3 separate regions of the Homo sapiens genome follow, and all the other regions are linked to region 1. Evidence: promoter capture Hi-C in 16 types of primary human blood cells and fetal thymus (Javierre and others, 2016). All regions are on one chromosome and are shown on one strand. Each heading gives the region's core, a stretch centred on a gene start or on the middle of the fragment in contact. The rest is flanking DNA. Distances are from core to core; before and after follow the strand shown.

Region 1 (2,648 bases), core at 51-2,550:
TTAAAAATGTAAAAACAAGGCCGGGCGCGGTGGCTCACGCCTGTAATCCCAACACTCTGGGAGGCTGAGGCGGGAGAATCAACTGAGGTTAGGAGTTCGAGACCAGCCTGGCCAACATGGTGAAACCCCGTCTCTACTAAAAAGACAAAAAAAAGAAGCCAGGTGTGTTGGCAGATGCCTGTAATCCCAGATACTCGGGAGGCTGAGGCAGGAGAATCGCTGGAACCCGGGGGGAGGAGGTTGCAGTGAGCCGAGATCGCGCCACTGCATTCCAGCCTGGGCGACAGAGCAAGGCTCCGTCGCAACAAAAAAAAAAAAAAAAGAAGAAGAAGAAATAACTAAAACAAACCCTATTTTGTCTTGCAAACAACTAAAAATACTTACTAGTGTATCTTTTCCATTAGATGATTCTGTCTCCAAGCCACCGCTTACATCGACCAAGTTTGCCTCCCTATAAGATAATGAAAGCGCTCAAGTAAGAATTCTCAAGACAAACCTCAAAATGCCTATTCCCAAAAATGATGATCAAATTACAGCCGAACTTCATACTCCTGCAGCTTTTTCAGCTAAGCCTGATCTCAGACTGGATGCCCAAGGTACTGTCAGGATACTGAGAAGGTGGACATGTCAGACAGTCGCGGACCCACGGAGCACAGGGAAGCCTAACCGGCCTTTACAGTCAAATCTACCTGGGTTAGAGTTGGTCCTGGGAGAGGTTCAAAGAGAGGCAGCTCTCCCACCCTGTTTTCAGAGTGACCGTTACTTCTTCCAGTCTGGCACTGCAAAGTGGTTTCTTTTCTGGAATATGTGAAGGCCTCCCGTTAAAGTGTGAGCTACCAGCTTCCTGCCAGGGTGCAAGGATCAGAGATAACGACAGGAGCCTCAGCTCCCACCGCCCGTGAAAGGTGCGGAAGGGGCGTTATCCGAGATATGCTTGAGAGGGGACGGGCCAAGCGGCGCAGAGGCAGGGCGAGCCATTGGCGGCGGGGCCTGGGTTCGCAGGGGGCGGGCGGCAGGGCTCCAGGAGCCGCGGGATTCGCGAGGGGCGGGCCTCCCTCCCGCGTCTTCCTCGGGCGGCAGGACCTCTTACCCGCCTTCAGCCTCCCCGGAACTGGGCTCAACTGTCGGAGCAGCAGAGATCCCCTCTCCAGGAGGAGCGGCTGCTCCCGCTGCCACCGGCTTCATCTCCCCCTCTTCTGCCCCTGTTGCATTTGCGACCGCTCCTGGGCCAGGCCCGGCACCCGCTTCCTGGCCAGGTCCTGCTCCTGCCGCCGCCATCACGGCCACCCCTGGACTTCTCGCGAGAATACTCTCTTCTCTCGCGCGCGTTGCTGTGTGACGCTGTAGTCTTCAAACAGAAAAAGCCCGCGGTGCGTCCACCGCCTGCCTGAGGAAGCATAATTCCACGACCGCTTTAAGGCCAGGCGCGCGGGCAGAGGTGGGCCGGCCTCCCGCGCCGGCGGTGGCCGCGGGCCTGGCAGGCTGAAGGTGGAGGAAGCTAGATGGTTAGTGCGGCTCTCTGGAGGACTTCCTTTCGAGTCAGGGACTGACGCGGCGTATTTTCGTGGCTACGACTGGATATTCTGCGCAGAAGAGGGTCCTTGAGAGCGCTGGCCGTGCCGTGCCGCCAAACACTCCTCACCACCGAATGTGGGAAACGTCTTCCTTGGAGTCTAGCACTCCCTGCCCGCCCCGGATGGAATTTGGTTTTCTGCGCAGGGTCGCCCCTTGGAGCCCGTTTCCAAATGATTTTAAGAGGGAAGGGAATCTAGGGAGGCCGATTCCAGGGGCGAGGGTGGAAAACCCAGGCCGGGCAGCCGAGGAGCGGCGTGGGCACTAGAAGCGGCTCGCCGCTTCCTACTGTGAGAGGCGGAAAGCGAAGCCCCGGGGTGTGCCGGGGCACTCGGAATGTAGACAAGTTTGGTGCCCAGCGAAAGGAAGAGGTGTGGACTGAAAGTACGAACTTGGGAAGTCATCAACAGTAGCTGGTGGCTGGCATCAGTGGAGTGAGTTGAGTCTTTCAGAGCCATGGTCTCCAAACTCGAGAATGCAAACCTCTGAGAGTGTTGCGGCCAGGAACGTTTTCAGGACACCAGTGTTTATCCTATATCCTAAAATGTTGCCTAACGATAATACACTCTTCTCCCGCTTTACACAAGAACGGCGCACCCCTCGCCAATCCTCAGTCTAATCTTACTGTGATGTGTCCACCGATAGTGTAGGAATCTCTGGGCCACTGGACGCCATGGGAAATACGTAGATATTGATTTCCCAATTGGTTCTCAATTATTGGTTTTCAACAAAATTGAAGAAAGACCTAACTGAGTTGCCAGGTTACATTTTTAAAATTGATGATAAATACTTAAATCAGGGGTTGGTACTCCAAAGAGAAGCAGGATGCTTGATCTAAGTATCTCCTCCCAAATACGTAGTATTGTAGCAGTTTTAACATATGGTCGCAGAATTTTGTGTTTTCTTGTTGTTGTTTGTTTGAGACAGAGTCTCGCTCTGTCGCCCAGGCTGGAGCGCAGTGGCCCGATCACGGCTCACTGCAACCTCCACCCCAGGTTCAAGCGATTCTCCTACCTCAGCCTCCCGAGTAGCTGAGATTACAGGTATCTGTCACCACGCCCGGCTAATTTTTGTTA
Region 2 (2,648 bases), core at 48-2,547, 890 kb before region 1:
TATCATTTTCTTTTCTTCCAGTAAGGTTTAGTAACACAATACTTACATTACCATAAACATAAATAAATACAAACAGAACTGCATATTTTAAAACGGACCAAGTTAATTTCTAAGGTTCCCTAGCTCACTCTTAAAAGATGTGATTTAAGGCCAGGTGTGGTGGTTCACACCTGTAATCCCAGCACTTTGGGAGGCTGATGCAGGAGGAACACTTGAGCCCAGGAGTTCGAGACCAGCCTGGGCAACAGAGCAAGATTGCCTCTCCACACACAAAAAAAGTTTTTAATTAGCCAAGCATGGTGACACACCCCTGCAGTCCCAGCTACTCAGGAGGCTTAGGCAGGAGGATTGCTTCAGCCCAGGAATTCGAGGTTACAGTGATCTATGACTGTTCCACTGCACTCCAGCCTGGGCAACAGAGCAAGACCCTGTCTCTCAGAAAGAAAAAAAAAAGATGTGACTCAAGCAGTGTCCCACATATGATCACTTAGGGAAAATAATCTGATTAAAATAACAACATGAAATGGAAAATAAACTACAATAATCTCTCAATATACAAACAACATTGTGCTACCCAACTTTAGTTGGGTCCACATTAGACCCATTCAAAGACTGTGAGAGAGGCTGGGGCGCGGTGGCTCATGCCTGTAGTCTCAGCGCTTTGGGAGGCTGAGGTGGGCGGATCACGAGGTCAGGAGGTCGAGACCATCCTGGCTAATACCGTGAAACTCCATCTCTACTAAAAATACAAAAAACTAGCCAGGCATAAGGCTGAGGCAGGAGAATTGCTTGAACTCGGGAGGTGAAGGTTGCAGTGGGCCGAGATCGTGCCACTGCACTCCAGCCTGGGCGACACAGCAAGACTCCATCTCAAAAAAAAAAAGACTGTGAGGGATTAGCTACTGAGATACAAAAGGACTGCATTCATTTATGAGGCAGTTCCATAGCGCTGACTCAAAAGGATGGCATGACTCCAAGCCTCCAGTATATGTTACATACCAAAAAGGAAAAAGAAATATGAGGCTATGTCATATGTTTGAGCTTGCGGATATTCCCAAGAAAAAGCTTCCAGTTACTTAGAGCTTGCATCTTTTGGGGGATTCCATAATAAATTCTATTATAAACCCAGATTTTTTACAAAGAGCAAATATAAATTTGGTAAGTTAAAGCTTCAAGTGCTTTTTGAAAACTGTCTTGGAAACCAGGAACTAGGTTTGTACATATTTTAATTATATATGCTTTCTTTTTTACTTAAAAGGTTGAAAACCAAATCATTCTTAAATGTAAAAGGCTACATTCTCCTATCGGCACAAACACAAACATATCAAATTCAAATATTTTGCTGGCATCTGAAAACGAGATTAGTATGGACCTAAGTTCTTACTACACAAATGATTTTACAGTGACTCACCATGAGTAAGCTTTCAAAGTCATTTTCTTTAGAATGCCAGTCTTTGTTTAAAAAAAAATTCTAAATCTGTTCCTCATAATTACTACCTTAGAAAATCAGAAGAGGTTTCATACCTGATTCCGCTTATTTTTTACAATGACACAGTTACCTTTGTCAGTTTAAAAAAAAAAAAAAAGTTTACTGAAAGTTAGCTGTTTGGAAATTATACTGCATTTCCTCATTGAGACAATGTTATAAAAGGTAGTAAAAATCCTATAAAACCTAATTAACTCCTAATGTAACTGACGTGTGCCTGGTACCTCAAATTCCTCTTTCGATCCTGGAAAATGTTTCAGTGCACGTTTTAAACACCTTATACTGCAAAAATGTGGTCAGCTGATTTTGTATGAACGTTCCCCGAGAGAAACAAGAGTTGACTCACTGCACACTATTACAAAAGCCTCTTAACCGGTGTCCCAGCCTCTAGTCTCTCCCTCCTAGATTCTATCCTCCACCGTGTTGCCCGTTTTCTTAACAGAAAATGAGATTAGGTCGCACCCCTACTTAAAACCTCCACTGCCCAAAGAACTTCCTACGGGGTGAAGTCCAAACCCCTTAGTTCAGCATAGAAGACTCTTCCCAACTGGTAACAACCTACCTTAGTTTGATCTTCCATCCCTCCCTTTTATAGTCTGCATGAAGACATATTGACATTTTTATCATTTCCTAAAAAGTCATGTTCTTTCATACGCCCCCCGCCCCACCATACTCTTGCAAAAACTTTCCTCTGCTTAGAATGTATCTACTATTCTACTTGAAAAATCACCGATGTAGCCCAGTTCAAATATTATTTTCTCTAAAAATCTTCCCCAACATCTCTCAGATGCGCTTAGCATATTTGGTCACCTTCTGCCCCTCTACAATCAACTGTGTGGTGTTTATAGGAGTTCCATAAACGGTGGCTAAACTTTGAAGGGGCATACACATGCCGAAGTGAGGAGCTGGCCAAAACCACAGTTAAAGACCATCAGGATATTCCACTCACCTAATGCAGGTCGGTAATGACTGACAATTTATATTAACATTTAAAAATACAGTCTTATTTACATTTACAAACACAAAAAAAAATCACAGATTAATAAAACTCCGGATGTATAATCGTCTTCACCTTAAACATCGGTGAGTGTTAACCATCTAGAATACCACCGGAAAAGTAGTTTTAACCAGAAGAAATTTGGCAACTTCCCATTCAAAACAT
Region 3 (2,648 bases), core at 89-2,588, 690 kb before region 1:
ACACAAAAGCCAGGCATGGTAGCTCACGCCTGTAATCCCAGGACTTTGGGAGGGTGAGGCAGGAGAATCCCTTTAGGCCAGGAGTTCGAGATCAGCCTAGGCAACATAGCAAGACCCTATCTCTACAAAAAATAAAAAAACTGGCCAGGCGTGGTGGCTCACGCCTGTAATCCCAGCACTTTGGGAGGCCAAGGCGGGCGGATCACGAGGTCAGGAGATCGAGACCATCCTGGCTAACACGGTGAAACCCCGTCTCTACTAAAAATACAAAAAATTAGCTGGGCGTAGTGGTGGGCGCCTGTGGTCCTAGCTACTTGGGAGGCTGAGGCAGAAGAATGGCGTGAACCCAGGAGGCGGAGCTTGCAGTGAGCCGAGATCGCACCACTGCATTTCAGCCAGGGCAACAGAGCGAGACTCTATCTCAAAAAACAAAACAAAACAAAAAATTAGCCAGGCATGGTAGTGTGTGCCTATAGTCCCAGCTACTCAGGAGGCTGAGGCAGGAGGATCATCTGAGCCCAGGAGTTGGAGGCTGCAGTAAGCTATGATCATACTACTGCACTCCAGTCTAGACATAGATCCTGTCTCAAAGCAAAACAAAACAGAGGATGAACTTGAGATTGTACCTCCTCAAAAGTCCATTCCTAGAGGATGTTTCTTCACCAATATATTTCCCAGCAAAGAGAAAGACCACCACAACAGCAGCAGCATTAAACAACTTTAGTGGGAGAAAACAGACAGATAGCAAATACAGACCAGCCCAAGCTTTACAGCTACCAGTCTGGTTATTTCCAGGAAATATCTTTAGCTAGAGTTTTATTTTACCAGTAAGCCTAAAACCTGCTTCTATATGTGGCTTCAAAAAAAATCTACAACCTTATCCGCCACTTAACTCCTGGCATACAACTCTTAGGAAGAGTCATTATAGAGTTTAGATACTGCAAGTTCCTAAAGCAGTTCCAGTATAAGAAAAGTCATTTCAAAATAGTCTTAGATGTTTCCCTGAGTTCAAAGAACTATACAGAAGTCAGCACAGGAGCCATGGGTATGGTAAATGTAGCCCACACGTTTGAGGGCCATTATGTACCAGGAAGCCAGAATGTTTACATATTTCAACTCCAACTCCTGACTAACTCCTCGTAAATCATTCTTCCAGAATGATTTAGTCTTATATAATTTATAACTGCGGTCCAACCATGTCTTGGAACCACAAAAGTATGAAAGACTATCTTTACCAGGAACAAAACAATCAATAATTTTGGGAGAAAGGGAACTTATCCAGTCCCAGAAATTAAACTTCAATATGAAATGACTCTGAAGGGCTTTCTGCCCACTGAAATCCTCTCCAGGCAGACCTGTGCTCTGGCTGTCTTTGCACATTTGCTGTGTATGTGTGACAAGGCCATTGGCGGTACTCTGGACTAGCTCCGGATGTTGCACCCAAGGACCCTGGAAGTCAGGGTACGACCAGGTTGATGAGCAATCATCCTATTGTTTAAAGACCCTAAACTGAAAGCCTTCATAATATGCAGGGTTGTTTCCTGGACTGGACACTCCTCTACCCCTACAATTACAGTCTGCATTCATGAACTACCCCATAGAGCCTTCATGATCCATAAACATTTAAAAGTTTTCCTTTTAGAGAGAATGAAAAAAATGTGAGAGTCACTGGTACAGGAAGGACCAAACAATTGGGTCTCTGTGGTTTTGGGGGCCTAGGTCATCCAGGCCTCTATTCAATTGGCAAAGAATCTGGCGGGATGAATCAGTCTAGCAGCTGACAAAACGATGAGGAAGGGCCGCCCAAGCTGATGGCAATTCAAAAAGGCTTTCAAACAGCTCCTTAACATGTGTCTTATGAGCTTTATTTAAATTTGATGGAAAGGCCACCAAATAGTTCTTTCAAGCTTCAAAATCTCCCTTCTGATCTGCCAATCTTTACGGAAGAAAAGGGAAGCTATGAGGAATAAGTGTTATCTTCATCACTGAGAGTGCTACACAGCTATGCGTCGCACACAAATTCTCCAGTATATAAGCTTGCCTATTCCCATGTTGTCCCTGCCTAGAACAATGGCAAAATGCAGCCTAGGGCAAGTTGAGGGTATTGCTGAATTCTCAGCTGGGTAAGCACAGCATGGAGCTATCAATTTAAAGCAAAACCAAATCAGCTTTTTGCTGATGTCATTTTACCAATAATTCCAGCTCCATCATGCAGTCTATTACCAGAGTAACTTGACTTCCCTAGGCAACCTACGAAGAAGTTGCTAAGCAATAAAAATACTTATTAGGGAGAGGAGAAAGTCACAATCAGCACAAAGTTTAGGTAGCTAGATAACTGAAAGCTGGCGCTGCCACTTCAGGGTGACAGTGCCAGATACTGGAACAGAGAAACCACATAAAAAGGACTTCCATCCTAGAGTCCCTTCTCCACACAGCAGCCCAGGGAGCCTTTTACAAAAGAAGCTGAATCACAATCCCTCTGTTCAAAGCTCTCTGTTGTGGGCTGAATTATGTCTCTCAAAATGATATGTTAAAGTCCCAACTCCTAGTACCTATGAATGTGACCTTATCTAGAAATAGTATCTCTGAAGATGTTACCAAGTTAAGATGAGGTCAAACTGGATTAGGGTGGGCCCTAACTTCAACGA

What was found. Contacts are between HindIII fragments. The CHiCAGO score rates a contact against its expected background, and 5 or more counts as called.
Region 2: a fragment that was not itself captured here is called in contact with the fragment with the promoter of ASH2L in region 1 in 1 of 17 cell types (naive CD8 T cells); the score reaches 5.5 in naive CD8 T cells.
Region 3: a fragment that was not itself captured here is called in contact with the fragment with the promoter of ASH2L in region 1 in 1 of 17 cell types (fetal thymus); the score reaches 5.3 in fetal thymus.

Annotation. Positions count from the first base shown.
Region 1 is chr8:38,104,181-38,106,828 of GRCh38, reverse strand. ASH2L (ASH2 like, histone lysine methyltransferase complex subunit) reads right to left here and starts at 1,300. Exons shown (of 16, transcript NM_004674.5): 1 at 1,091-1,300; 2 at 385-451. The coding sequence starts at 1,278. RefSeq lists silencers at 913-1,112, 1,443-1,532 and an enhancer at 1,203-1,332. The HindIII fragment of the contact is 22,171 bases long and covers 1-2,648 here.
Region 2 is chr8:38,998,267-39,000,914 of GRCh38, reverse strand. The region is part of intron 1 of ADAM9 (ADAM metallopeptidase domain 9); the gene reads right to left. Among named protein-coding and RNA genes, the nearest start is that of ADAM9, 2.6 kb to the right of the region's middle. The HindIII fragment of the contact is 252 bases long and covers 1,172-1,423 here.
Region 3 is chr8:38,790,259-38,792,906 of GRCh38, reverse strand. All of the region lies in intron 2 of TACC1 (transforming acidic coiled-coil containing protein 1), which reads right to left. Among named protein-coding and RNA genes, the nearest start is that of TACC1, 4.3 kb to the right of the region's middle. The HindIII fragment of the contact is 1,142 bases long and covers 768-1,909 here.